Regions from separate parts of the Homo sapiens genome. Here region 2 is linked to region 1. Evidence: promoter capture Hi-C in 16 types of primary human blood cells and fetal thymus (Javierre and others, 2016). All regions are on one chromosome and are shown on one strand. The core of a region is centred on a gene start or on the middle of the fragment in contact, and the rest is flanking DNA. Distances in the headings are between cores, read along the strand shown.

The links. The method cuts DNA at HindIII sites, captures the fragments that hold promoters and counts their contacts. A CHiCAGO score of 5 or more calls a contact.
Region 2: a fragment that was not itself captured here is called in contact with the fragment with the promoter of SMCO3 in region 1 in 2 of 17 cell types (megakaryocytes and M2 macrophages); the score reaches 6.4 in megakaryocytes.

The regions. Positions count from the first base shown.
Region 1 is chr12:14,809,717-14,817,041 of GRCh38, forward strand. It overlaps SMCO3 (single-pass membrane protein with coiled-coil domains 3), which reads right to left and starts at 4,466. Exons shown (of 2, transcript NM_001013698.2): 1 at 4,410-4,466. The region is part of intron 1 of C12orf60 (chromosome 12 open reading frame 60); the gene reads left to right. The HindIII fragment of the contact is 14,101 bases long and covers 2,975-7,325 here.
Region 2 is chr12:15,235,629-15,242,953 of GRCh38, forward strand. No RefSeq gene overlaps it. Among named protein-coding and RNA genes, the nearest start is that of RERG, 18 kb to the left of the region's middle. The HindIII fragment of the contact is 955 bases long and covers 3,679-4,633 here.

The sequences.
Region 1 (7,325 bases), core at 3,216-5,715:
AAAAAAAAGCACATGCAAAAATTTGACTAACAAAGATGGCCAATGTAAAAAGAACTGAAAACAAGCTGGAGAGAATGCAAAAAAAGTATTGTTATTATTTTCAAAAAGCAGTGACAATCTAATATATAAATGAGCAAACCACCCTGAACAGAGTACAAAAAATAGTATCTAATAAAATGGTGGGAAAAGTTCAGTCTTACTAGAAATCAAAGTGTAAGACATTGTACGTTTTCAACTACTAAAGTAATGTTTTTCCTCCTTTTAAGTAGTCTTGCTCTTGCACTTGCGCTTAGACTCTTTTTCGTGGGATCTAGACATCAGTTCATGACTTCGTTCCAATAACGAGTTTGGCTAAAGAAATGTTATGATGTGCTAAGAATTATGTTTCCCTTATAATGAAAAAGGACTTTTATTCTGAGTCAGACTTACCTTCCTAGCTTTTTTCCTTGGGTGGGGAGTGGGGAGGGTTTTCTTGTGCTAACATATCTTCAGCAGGCCTGCCACCATACCTGCTTAGGTATGTCTGAGCTCCAGTTCTGAATACAGCTCAAGGTTATTTCTACACCCCAAATGAGATAAGAAGCACTGGGGAATTAGGAAGAGGAGAGGTGGGGATTGAAAGTGAAACCATTGAATTGTGTTTTGGACAGGTGAAGTTTGAAGAGCTTAGCGAAGAAGGCAATTATTGATTCATTAACAATTCATCTAATAGGTTAGTACTTACCACGTGTAAGGTCATATGCCAGCACCACTCTGCAAAGCATACAAAGATGAAAAAGACATGGTCCTTGCTTTTTTGGAATTTCTAATCTAGTTAGGAAGTTAAGACAGATTTATAACTGTAATATCAAGTTGAAAGTAATATGTCGTACAAAATTAAAGGTACACTTGGTATTTGACTTGTGCAAATTTGTTTTAAACAACCCACACTTTAATATATAATATATTGGCACTGTGGCCATGTGGAGACATTTAGTCATCTAGTAAGGTTAACAATTTGTAACCTTTCAAGTATTCTTAGATATGTGCTTGACAGTTGAGGAGAGGCTGGGCACCACATGGAGAACCATAGTTGGCAGTGTGCAGTATTTTCGCTATTGCCCTTAACAATTTAGTTCTGACTCCCAAAGTGATTACTCCACTCAGCAAAACAAAAGCCCTGCAATTATTTGGAGTCACCCTTCTTAAAGATCGTAGTTGTTACTCAGGCAAGCTTCAAGTGATATTTTACAAACAACCCATAATATTGTGCCCGAGAGGAGTTCTGAGCCATATACTTTCTCCATCTTATTCCATTTTCATTGATGACCTGTCACTTTCAAAGATTGTAGCACCAACAGCAAGTGGTATATTTAATCCAGCTCTAATTAACTACACCTATTGTATGGTAAGTTTGAACTTTTACATAATTTGAATTGTCACATGATGGTGCTTCCTGTTGGTGAAAAGTTCCACTTGGGGAATTACCATCCACTTTTGTACAGAGTTTGTGCTATTATTTGAATATTTTCTTGTAGTTATCCATGAAATGGGTTCTGTAGTGCCCTGGAGCAGCCCATTGGGAATTGCTAGACAGCAGGTGGAGCTCTTGGTCTCTGGGTCTCCCATTTTTCACCTGGGCCTTTGCTGGACTGGAGCAGCTGTGCTTTCTCTTGCTCTACACATTTGGGCTCTGGGTAGGTAAAATTTTATTTGATGAGAGAGTTCTGTTGCTAAAACAAAGTTTGGAAATTTTTGACTTGTTATTTTATTAAAAAATGACAAAAAACATCTGAAAGTGCTGATGTCATTGGTCAGCACACCTTAAGAAATGAAAATGGAGACAAAGGTTAGCTTGAGATGGATGCTTACTGCACCTAACCTTGTTAATTTTTTTGAATTGAGAAGTCAACATTTAAGATTAAAGGGCATCTAAGATATGGTAGAAATATGCTGATAATTGTGTCTAAAAGTTAAGTTTTATTTAATGACATCATACAGTTGTTTTAGTTTTTCAGAAAAGGAACTACCTTACAAAATGAAAATGTACTGATCATCATATGTTCAAATACAACTCTTCAGGGTACTTTCGTGAATAACAGTAGTGCGTTGACTGTCAAGTGCTGTTGAACTTAGAAATTAATATCAAGGTGATTAGAGAAAGCTTCATGGAGAATGCAATATATGATTTATACTTTGATAGATGGTACATTATGGAGAAATTAAAAGTGAACGGTTTGGTAAAACGATTTTTAAATATATACTTATTACCAGTAACATATACACTTTTTTAAATAGAGGAGGAAAAACACCCATAAACCTACCATTTCACTTTTGATTTTTGTTATTCTTTTTCAAAATTTGTTTATATGCATAAGTATCTTCACAAAGTTATCATAATAGTATAAATAAAATTCATCTTTTATTCACTTAACACTTTCCCCTATTTATAGCTTTAAAAATATTTGGCCGGGCGTGGTGGCTCACGCCTGTAATCCGAGCACTTTGGGAGGCCGAGGCGGGCGGATCACGAGGTCAGGAGATCGAAACCATCCTGGCTAACACGGTGAAACCCCGTCTCTACTAAAAATACAAAAAATTAGCCGGGCGCGGTGGCGGGCGCCTGTAGTCCCAGCTACTTGGGAGGCTGAGGCAGGAGAATGGCATGAGCCTGGGAGGCAGAGCTTGCAGTGAGCCGAGATTGTGCCACTGCACGCCGGCCTGGGTGACAGAGGGAGACTCCGTCTCAAAAAAAAAAAAAATTTTATTGGTTACGTATACTATTCCCTGTCTTTACCCTGGTTCAATAAATCTAAAATTGTTTCACTATCACTAATATTCTAATGAGCATTTTGATACCCACAGATTTTTTTTCCTCCATTATCTGGATTATTTCCTCAGCATAAGTACCTAGAAGAATTACATAATTAGTGGCATAAGTAATGGGAATTAAATTTTTATTACTTTTGATATGTATCGTAAATTGCATTCCAAAAGCTTTTACTGTGCTACCCCAAATAAATTTTTATAGCAGGATACTGGGTATCCTGCTATAAAATTTTTACAATTTTTATTTTAGATTCAGGAGGTACATACACAGGTTTGTTCCCTGACTATACTGTGTGTTGCTGAGGTTTACTGTGAATGATCCTGTCACCCAGATACTGAGCATAGTGCTGGTATATTTCCCAGTCAAAGATGGTCCTGTTTAAATATTGTTGATTTGGGAAGAGTAAGGTTAAATTTCAAAAAGAGAAGTTCTTGCCTATTTGGAAATACATACTGAAAACATTTAAGATGAAATGAAATGGTCTCAGAGATTTGTTCACAAATAATCTGGAAAGAATAGTGGGGTAGGGTTATAGAGGAAAAAAGATTGGCCTTGTTTTGATAATTTTTAAAGCTGAGTTATGGGTACATGGGAGTTTATTATATTATTGTCTCTACTTCTGTGTATGTTTGAACTTTTCTTATAACAAATAAAAAAGAAAGAAAAAGAAAAACGTGACCCTGTCTAAACCTCTGATGTTTAGTCGTTAGTGCTCTCTGAGGTTTTACATTTCTTCTTGCTGTCACTTTTCTTCACTGTCCAAACAGGGTTTTGCCATCATGCACAGTTTCCTTATCTGGGAGTGTGGAAATAGGGTATAGGTAAAATCAGGAGCTTTTCAGAAGAAAATAACAGCTTCTAACTAGTTCTGAGTCTCCTTTAATTCAAATAAAAATCTGTGGCCTTTAATTAAAACAAAAATTGATCATGATGTGATGATATACTTTCTGATATAAATTCATTTAAAAAATGTTTCTGACCAGAAAGAAGAATATTAAAGTCATTCATCAGCATTTATCAAGTGCTCACTGGTGAAGCCTCTACTGTGTCCCTTGAGGCATTTGAAAACGACAATGTTCCTTGCCCTCAAGACGATAACAGCCTGTTTGGAGACACACAGCAAATGCTCAGAGATATTTAGATACAACATAATTTATGAAGGAGTATAAGTACTATACATTAACCAGTATTAGATTCCACATTCATTCTTTCATAGATAGGTACTGAGTGCCTATATTAATATTAATGACATAGAAGGAAATGTTACTATCCATGTAAACTTCACACATTCACACAGGTATCATTTCATCCTTAATCCTTCTTAGAATTGATGTCTTTACTGCTTCTCTTCCACTCTGACTTAATCAGTCCTAGAAATTGTTAATTTTCTTCCTTCTCTGCTGTCTTCAGAGAAGGCACCAGGAAAGGTTCCTTCCAAATCACAAGGAACATGTCATGGGATCCTCTTATAACAAAGCTGTTTTTTTACTTTATTTTATTTATGGTTAGGATTCAAGACTGACGGGCTAATTCAAATTCCTCCTACTACTGAGAAACAGAGTATTATATCAATACTAATAGAAATATCCACGTTGCTTACCTTGCTGTGTTTCTGAGTTCCGTGGTCCTAGCAGTTGTTTAGGAGTATTGTTAAAGTGCTTTTTCATCTGGTTTCATCTGGATATTTCTGATGGAATGTGATGACTTACAGACTTTGCTAGTCTCTGCTGGGTCCCTCTGCCTGTCTGGTTTATAGGCTATTTCTACATGGCTTGGCCCTCAGAATTCCTTCATTTCCTATTAATAAAAACTTAGTATACAGTATTAAGTTATATAAACTGGAAGACTAATAGTGTGTAAAACTTATTTTTAAATTTCTGTTCTTTAATGGACTTTTTATTGTTGAGAAGCGCTATATAACTGAGCTAATTCAATTTAGTAGAGAAGATGGCTCTTTGATTGCAGCTCTCAGATTTTGGGGTTTTATCTTGTCAACTATTCCAGATACTAAGTTTCTTTTAGCTTCTGTTGCATTTGCACCTCTAACTGTTGCTGATTATTTAAATTCTCAAGATATATAAATGCAGTTACTTGCATCCAATTTTTTTTTCTCTTCTTTCCAGCTAGGAGTTCTCCTCTTTGTCATTCTTTCTCTTCCTGTGTTTGTAAATTGTCTTGACAATATAAAAACCTTAAAGTCCAACTTCACTCTTTTCCCTGAAAGCTCAGATCAGTCTTCCCTGCTGCTTCTTCCCAGCTTCAGTCTTCAGACCCGTTAATTCCTCCACAGCAAAGACACCTGAGTGGCAGGGAAATCACTCAGCCCCAGTGTAACTTAGTGAAAGACAGCAGGCTTTACACTCAGACAGTCCTGGTTTTGTGTACTCCAAGTACCACTTACTAGTCATGTAATCCTAAGAAAGTCACTTAGCCTGAGTTTTCCCATTGGTGTAATATGAGTATTAGTTAATAATTTATGGATTAAATGGGATAGTGTTTATAAAGTAATTGGCATAGTGGCTGATATGTGGCAAAATCTTATGAAACGGTAGCTATTCATATATTAACAACAGTATCTCCTGGTGGAGGGGAGAGGAGAATGGGTGGGTACAGGATACAGAATCAAAATGCCAGACAGGCAGACAGGAAACTTTAAAATCTAAAGATGCTGCCCTGTGATTCTAAAGAAGGGCTAAGTGGGGTCACTTTTCTACTTTTGTCCCAGTGGATCATCTTGCCCTTGATGTATCCAGGGCCCCACCACGTACGGATGTGTGGCCAGTGTATCTGAACTAGGTATGGATGTTAAGTAGGATTTTAATAGATGTTTGGGGAGGATGGTGGTATAGAGGAAATAATACAGATAGAGGGAACACTGAGAGCAAAGGAGCTGAACCAAAAATTGTAGAACATTTTCAGGGAACAAAAACCAACCTGCTGGTGATACAGGGTGTAAGTGGGAGCAGTTAAGGGAAGGTAAGTCATGGAAAATTGAAAATAGTTTGTAGATAGCCTTAGATGTCATGCTAGGAAATTGTATTTCATTCTGTAGATAATAATGAACCATTAAAAAATCCTTTTAATTATGGTGTAATATTTGGAGATTTGGATTTCAGGAAGGGTACATTATGTAAACTTGATTAGTAGGTATGGACAATAAAGCATAAGTTACCAACCCCATTGCCTACAGTATGTGGACAAAATATGTCTGTCTTTTACCCTGTCTTAAAACAGTTGCATTTTGTTTCCGAAGAGGCTATTGTTGAAGAGTACCATTTAACCCACTTGTTCCTAAGGTGTTTGTTTCTCTCCTATTTCTACCCTTCTTAACATTTATTGCCTACTCATCCACTCCTTTCTCTCCTACCACATAGCAGCCTAAGTGGAGTTGCCAAAATTAAGGATAAACAGTAACAATGCAAAATAATTATCAGAGAAAAACTAGAAGCAATATTGACTTCATACTGAGCCCCCTAATCAACTTGAACTTCTTTTTTCTGCAATCAGTTTCTCAGGTTGAAAACTTGAACTTCTTAAATCTTTCTTGACTACTAAAGCCAGTATTAACGTCAAGTCAATAGTCAGAACTGAACCTTAGGAAGGAGGCACATTTTCTTAGTGTAGATCTTGGAGTCAGGGTGGTTTTAGGGAATCAGGAAGGCTGATTTGACAAGTTTCACTGCTGGATTGACAGTGGTGGGAAATGAGAGTGAAAGCAATAATATCTCCAAACTTATCTGCATGTAGCTCTCACTTGATCGTCTTTTATTTAGAATGCTTTATTTTCCCTTTTATCCTAAAGCTCATCCCCTTCTTTTCCTAAAATCTCTGCTCAAAAACCATATATTACATGACCCTGAATAAACTGCCCGATTCAATTACGATTGTTTCAACAATTTGCCAGCACTTATGAATGCTGCACTTAAAAAAAAATCAAGCAAACCTAAAAATAATCACCTTTTTGACCCAATAGCCTCCTTTATCTTTCTTCTTCACAGTTAGACTTCCCAGTTTGGTAGTGTACATGCATTGCCTCTACTTCATTTTCTCCATTAATTTTCCAGTATTTATAATCTAGCTTCTGTACATATTCCTGCCTCTTGCAAAATTGCTTTTCTAGCATTGTCAATGACATTGTAATGACTAAACATAAGAAATAATTTACAGTGTTTATCATACTTGCAGCATTTGAAATTGCTGATCAGGTCTTTATATTTTCTCTTTTTTTTTTTTTTTTGAGACAGAGTCTCACTCTGTCACCCAGGCTGGAGTGCAGTGGTGCCATCTTGGCTCACTGCATCCTCCGCCTCCCAGGTTCAAGCAATTCTCCTCCCTCAGCCTCCCGAGTAGCTGGGATTACAGGCGTGTGCCACACCCAGCTAATTTTTGTATTTTTTAGTAGAGACGGGGTTTTGCCATGTTGGGCAGGCTGGTCTCCAACTCCTGGCCTTAAGTGATCTGCCTACCTCAGTCTCCCAAAGTGTTGGGATTACACTAAAATAAAATACTTAAATAT
Region 2 (7,325 bases), core at 2,906-5,405, 430 kb after region 1:
AAGGAGTTCTTTCTAGTTCTTTAAGGAATCTCCACACTGTTTTCCGCAGTGGCTGTACTAGTATACATTCCCACCAGCAGTGTAGACGTGATCCCTGATCACTGCATTCATGCCAACATCTGCTGTTTTGTTATTTTTTGATTATGGCCATTCTTGTAGGAATAAGGTGGCATTACATTGTGGTTTTGATTTGCATTTTCCTGATCATTAGTGATGTTGAGCATTTTTTCATATGTTTGTTGTCCATTTGTATATCTTCTTTGGAGAATTGTATATTCATGTCCTGAGCCCACTTTTTGGTGGGACTGGTTTTTGTTTGTTTGTTTGTTTTTTCTTACTGATTTGTTTGAGCTCCCTTATGTTGGAGTCAAGGACTCTGGTGCTTCTGGCTCCTGTCCAGAGCACTGCCTACCTTGCCGTCTCCAGCTGTCACATAACTGTGCTCCTGGATCTCCAGCTTTCAAGTAACACATTTGATGTTTTAGCTTTCATCATCCTCCATTACCTTAAAGCATTCCACTAGGAATGACCTTTAGTCTTAAGAGACCAGGGTGTTCCTTTCCACAAAGTGTTTACTGTAATTTTTTTTTTTTTTTTGATGGAGTCCTGCTCTGTCGCCAGGCTGGAGTGCAGTGGCAGGATCTTGGCTCATTGCAATCTCTGCCTCCCAGGTTCAAGCGATTCTCCTCCCTCAGCCTCTGGAGTAGCTGGAACTACAGGCACGTGCCACCATGTCCAGCTAATTTTTGTATTTTCAGTAGAGATGGGGTTTCATCAGTCTATTGGCCAGATTGGTGTAAAACTCCTGGCCCCAAGTGATCTGCCTGCCTTGGGCTCTCAAAGTGCTGGGATTATGGGCATGAGCCACCACACCCAGCCCCACTGTGATTTTGAGGGAGGTTTTCCATTGCCCATTCCATTGCTACAGTGAGGGAGGCTTTCTACTGACGTAAAACTCTCTAGCAACCTTGATAGGATAAGAAGAGTCTGAGATTTGGGTACTCCCTTGAAGACATTGCCTATTATGTATCTAAACCTCCACTTTATAGTGAAGTGACCCTCACTTTATAGGTATTTAATAAATGATGGAAGTTTCCTCGGTACCCTATGTGGATGGAAACCCATCACTGGCTGCTTTACAGGATTTTGTTTTTAATATTTTGTGACAACATACTTATGTTACTTTTGGTTCAAGGAATAGTTCATTTAGGAGTTTAATAGTAAGAATTTGTTAACAACAAGAACAGAATTTTTACCCCTGCATTAGATTAATTCCATAAATTTTTAACAGTTATTTGTTTCTATATTTTAATATAAAACAGCAGGTTTAAAATATGAAACACAGATTAAAATGAGACTAAAATAATTGACAGTTTCTTTTAACCACAGAGGAAACTGGGCAAGGAAAATCTTAGGATGGAGGAACTGAAAAACACTAAATTAGGAGTACTTGATTAGATATATGTAATCTAACCAGGAAGCAGACATGCATTTTTCTCATTTTAAAGACAAAGAATGGAAATATGTGATTTTCCTCTGTGTCCAGCAAGTCAGGGGCAATGAGCTAGGCAATGAGCTCCTATAAAGTTGTCTCTGAGACACATTACTTCTCATATAATGCAGTAGACATGAGTGGAAGTGATTAATATCCTAGACTGTAATAATTAATCTGTCAGCCTCCTATTGCCAATAAAAATGAAAACAACAATCTCTAACATTGAGATAGCATTTTTGTGATGTTCTAATTTCTTTTACTCTACTTTTCACTGCATCATTTTAGAGAAAAGGACGCTGAGAACCAAAGAGCAGTTTGTCTAAATTTACAAAGGTAGTAATTATTAAGTATGAGTTAGATTTTTTTAAATGTAGTATGGATTTTGTTTTGATAAACACATATTTGACGATTTAATCTTTCACTTATAGGTTATCTATATTGTTTATTCCTTTAATAAACATTACAGAGCCCCTGATATACCTGAGGTACTGTGCTAGATTCTGAGGATACTTCAAGGAATGATTCAGACACGGTTCATCCCATGCATAATTTACAGTATATTGATGAAGACAGTTATTAAACAAGGGATGAATATTATAAAACAATTTCGGTGTTTTCCACACTTGCCTCATGGTTAGTCACAGGTATAGTGTGGTATCTTTATTGTGCCACAGACTGGTAGACTTAGCCACACTGGATGTTAGTTGGATGATAACTCCTTTGAAAGAACTAAGACTCATTAAGTATACGTAAAGAGGGCTGGTGCTGTTCAGGGGACAGGAGTAGGAATCATGTCTTCCAGAGGTTTAGTGAAATGGGTAGACTGTGAGGCTGAATTTCAATGAAGAGACTTAGGTGAACATCATCAAGAATACAAAGACAGGAATTTCCCAGGACAGGGAAGGAAGGAGTACGTTGTTGAGACCAAATTCAACATATGCAGGGACAATGTCCATAAGCTATATTTTTTTGAAGAGGATAAAGAATGGACCAAACACAAGCAAAGGCCAGAGTTACTCTAAAAAAAATAGCTTGGTGGGCAGATGCTATCTTTAATGAGGCAACTCAAGGCTTCTCTAGGGCTATTTTAGTCAGAAAGGGGAGAGAATCTCCAAATATGGTCCATTTCCTTAATGCAACCAGGAGTCAAATGAGAAACTCATTTAAAATTCCACGAAAATTGGGTGAGGAGGGAGAATATTTCTCTTAGAAAAAAAAAATCCCCTTCTAGGTATAGGCTCTAGTAATGTTGGGTAAATATTTGGATATTTGGATATTATGATTAGCTAAGAATGGAGACCATCAAAAATCAGGTTGAATAACAATGGGTTATTGACAATTTGCCTTTTAAGGAAGGCGGGTCCAGTTGACCTCAGAAGTTCTTCAAGTGAGATTATTTTTTAAGTGGAATCTGAATTTGTTGGGACAATAGAGTATAACTTAGAGATTTATGGGGAAAATATCAAGAAAGAAAAACATCTCTAGGCTGGCAGCTGAAGAATTACTCTCTGGGAGAAAAAAGGTCTAATGGAGATTGTTACTAAGTTCTTTGCTATGATGTGTGCAATGTAAATTTGCTCTTTTATTTCTGCAATTAAAATCTACATTGTGACTTGCATTTGACCTTGAAGCATGTGACCAAGTATTGTGTTCTTATTGAAGTTGATACAGGAAAAACTACAGGTTATTCATATGGAGTGCCAAATGTGGGTTATAATACTCATAATAATAAATACCACTTACTTAGCATTACTATGCCCTAAATGTTTTCCTTATGTTGTCTTATTTGCCCTTTACCCCAATTATATGATTTAGTGTGTAGTTGTGGTTTTAATTGCCTTGGCTTGAACTGACCTATATCATTACTTCTCATCTTCCATTGGCAAAACTTAGTCACATGATAACACTATAATGGGCACCAGCAAATAGAGCCTCCAGCTGTACTATTTCTTCCCAGATATAACTCTCTAGTGTAAAAGAGAGAGCACACATTTGATAGATAGCAGTCATATTGGCCATGTCAGTCAGGCAGATAGTATCCCCATTATATACATGAGAAAAAGGAGACTTAGGAAAATTGAGTAACTTCCTCAATATCACACAAATAGAAGTGGAAGAGCCTGATCCATGCCAGATATTTTTTAGATGCTAACTACATATGATCTAATTTAAATGTAAGGTAAAGCTTATTTAAGTGAAATGAGTTAGATGAAATAGAGTTAAACTGACAGCCCCAACCACCAGATAAAAAGGTAACAGAAGCCATTAAAATGAATGGGGATAAAAAATGAACTCAAAGACACACTGTTAAATAGAAAAGAAAGAGCAAACCAGTAAGATACAATTTGTATATTAAACAGTTGTAATTATACACAGGCACTGTGCTCAGGCACAGGGAATATCTCTGGAAGGGGGATTCAGAGCTGCTGGGACAGTGGTTTCTTCTGAGGAAGATAACTGAGGGCTTGGAGAAGGACTTCCCTTTCATTATACACCTGTTTGAACCTTTTGAATATTTTATTGTGTGCATGCAATTACTTATGCAAGTTTAAAATTTTAAGTCAAATGTCAAAAGTTGATCAGAAGATAGCATAATCCTTTAGGAACTGCTGCTCATTCTCCAGGCTGGAGAGACTCTTTAACGCTGAACTTCCCACCTTCGCTCTTTTGGCGCCACGTAATCTCCAAGGATACGATTCTTAACTCCTGTTGATGTGAAACTATATTGACTCCTGGAAATCTCAGGGGTCGTTGATCCTGGTCCCATTGTCAATAGACAACTCTTCGACTTGGTTTTACCTCCCTATTTCCTGGCAATTAAACTATCCAGGTTGACTTAGCATTAACCAAGCCACCTTCAAATTTACCACTTATGCTTGGATCTATTCTCCCGAGACTGAAAGTCTAGCCAGTCTTTCTGCGTGACTGGTCCCAGTGCAGCACACATGTAGGAAATCTGCAGAAATAAACCAAGATATATGATTGGCGAATGAGTGATTTGAGAACAAAGGATAATAACATTTCAAATGTGAATTCCTACAATTAAGGATTTGAAAGAAAATGGAAATCACATTTTTCTCTTCATGTTTATCAGAGCAAATCATTAGTGATGTTTATGCCAGCTATCTAGTTAGGTCAAGCTTTACCATGGCCAGAAATGATTTTCATAAACATGCAAGCAGGTGGAAACAACTTAAAAATAGCCTTGAATGGAAATAATTACCACTTTATATTATCACAAAAGCATATCTTTGTGGCAGAAAGCCCCATTCCTACTTGGCAAAGCCCTAATTACCACTGTTTACGAGAAGAGTGTTGATGCCTTAGTCGAAATTCCTGGGTTCCAAAGTTCAACTTTTTTTTCCCTAGAGTTTAGAAAATGCTAAAAATTATCTTTTGGTCCAAAATGGCTTCACAGACAGTAATTGTTCCAATGATGCACAAAGTATTGCTCAAGCACTTTTGTCTTATGTTGAAGCCCTTGTTTTTAAAGGAACAGAATGCAACTAAACAAATGTAGAAATTAATCCTTAATCCTAATAGTTAAATCTCCATTTAAAACTATATACACAATAGTTGTCTCCACTAGAAGTTAAAATAATTTGAACAACTACAAAGTTAAAACAAAATTTATAATGAAAGCATTTTAGGGCATAAAATACATTAAACTAAGTTATACTATATTTCTTAACTAGAACATGATGCTGTTATTTGGAATGCAGGGGGAAAAACATAAATTTGACCTTTCATACATTCTCAAATATTTCATGTTGTTTGAGGTATGGACATATTACATACATTCCTTAATTCATTTATATATTCACTGATGCCAAACAAACATTTCTAAGATTATTTGTTTTAAGCTTATTTGGACAGTGAAAAATGTCAGTATACAATATGCTTAATTCTACTTCAGCTTAGAAACGGTTGTCTCAGCTCAAATGTCAACTTTTAAAACCAAATAGAAGAGTCAGCAATTACGTTCTAACATTTAGATCTGAGAGTGAAAATGAATACTGGCCGCCCTCCTAATCGTTTTCTGCTTTTGTTTTTGTTTTCCTTTTTGCTTTTTTATTTCACTTCTCCTCCTTGACCCACAAAACTTGAAGATTGAAATGTAATTTTCTTTTGTAAGACTTTGTTATTGATTTAATGAATTAAAAGCAACTTACTTGTATTTAAAAAATCAGCTTATATTTTGGTTCGTCAATGCTTTCAATCTTCTCATAATGCTACAGCCCATTCCGACATTAACTTATGGACTTATATCTATCAAGTATCAACAGTGACAGAAACAAACTTCTTCTCTGGTAGAAGAAAATCTATCACGATATTGCTTTGCCTTTTACCTTTCAAAATGCTGTGATACCAACCATGTATTTTTCCCCTCATCTCTCTTAAACTTTATTGTAAAATTCTTTCTGTACCTTAACTCTAAATATCGGAGTTCTTTGAATCCCCTAGATGAGATTCCTTTTCTTCTCTCTCTCTCTTCCTCAATGTTCTTAGGCAGACCTATAGTTCGAATGCTATCTCTGTCCAGATGAATCCTATGTTTATATAACATTATGATATCTGTGAGCTTTCCTGTCTTGAGCAGAGGCCACAAAGGCTGAGAGCAACACAATACGAGGCAAGTATCTTACGTCCTAGAGAAGATACTAAACCAGATGGGGTGGTCATGCTAAGGGATTATAAAACTGGTACTGCCAGCATTGGTCTGTTGCCTGCCTTCTGAATCTGTGAAGGAAGGTGGCAGATCCAAAGGAGGTTGAAGCAGCCACTTTCAAAATAATTTCTTTAAAGGGAATTGTCAGTGTGCTATCCATTTCCCCCAAGTTTTCCACACAGCTATGAAGGAGGGGAGAGGTACTCCCCTCTCATCTTCAACCATGTGAGTTGGAGTTTGTGAGAAGTATTTAGAGTTTAGCACACACTTTTGTTTTGAGATGAGGTCTCACGCTGTTGCTCAGGCTGGAGGGCAGTGGTGCAATCTTGGCTCACTGAAGCCTCAACCTCCTTGGCTCAAGCAATCTTTCCACCTCAGCCTTCTGAGTAGCTGGGACCACAGACACATGCCACCCCACCCAGCTAGTTTCTTTCAAAAATATTTTTTTGTGTGTAGACAGGGTCATGCTATGTTGCCTGAGCTGGTGACAAACTCCTGGATTCAAGCAATCCTTCCACCTTGGCCTCCCAAAATGCTGGGATTGCAAACATGAACCACCACATGGGGCCAAAGCACACACGTTTGGAAGAACACTGGAACTAGTACCAGACTTACTCTAAGAGAAGGTTGTGTTGAGGTGTGTTGCCAGTTCACAGACTCAGGACAACAGTACACGTTTTCCAGGTGCCAGATATGGACTTCATGAGCTACCTTGAAAATAGTCCTGCTGAGGAAAGTTTCCTACCAGGGAATTGACTAGGGGTATACCAGCTGTTTATTTTTGCCCTACCCACAGGGCACCAATCCCATGTTTTAATCATACCAGTTATTTATCCTTTATCCCCCAACCCCCTTGGAATCTGCAGAGGCTCAGAACAATCATAAGCTACTGAAAGTGTGAGGACATGTCCCACTATGGGGTTCAAGAGTCCAAATACAAAACAGCTTGGGGGAGAGGAAAAGTTTCAAATTGGATGAGGATCTGAAATTTTTATAGTTTGGAAACTACAATGGATTTTTATGTTGCCTGATACTATCTTAAAAGCCATGCCATTTTGCCATTCATCGGGAGCGAAAGAGCAACTCAACAGAAAGGAATTAAAAGGACCAGTTGGAGAAAATATAAACCTGCTTTCTGTTTGCAACCTACTGTGTACAAGT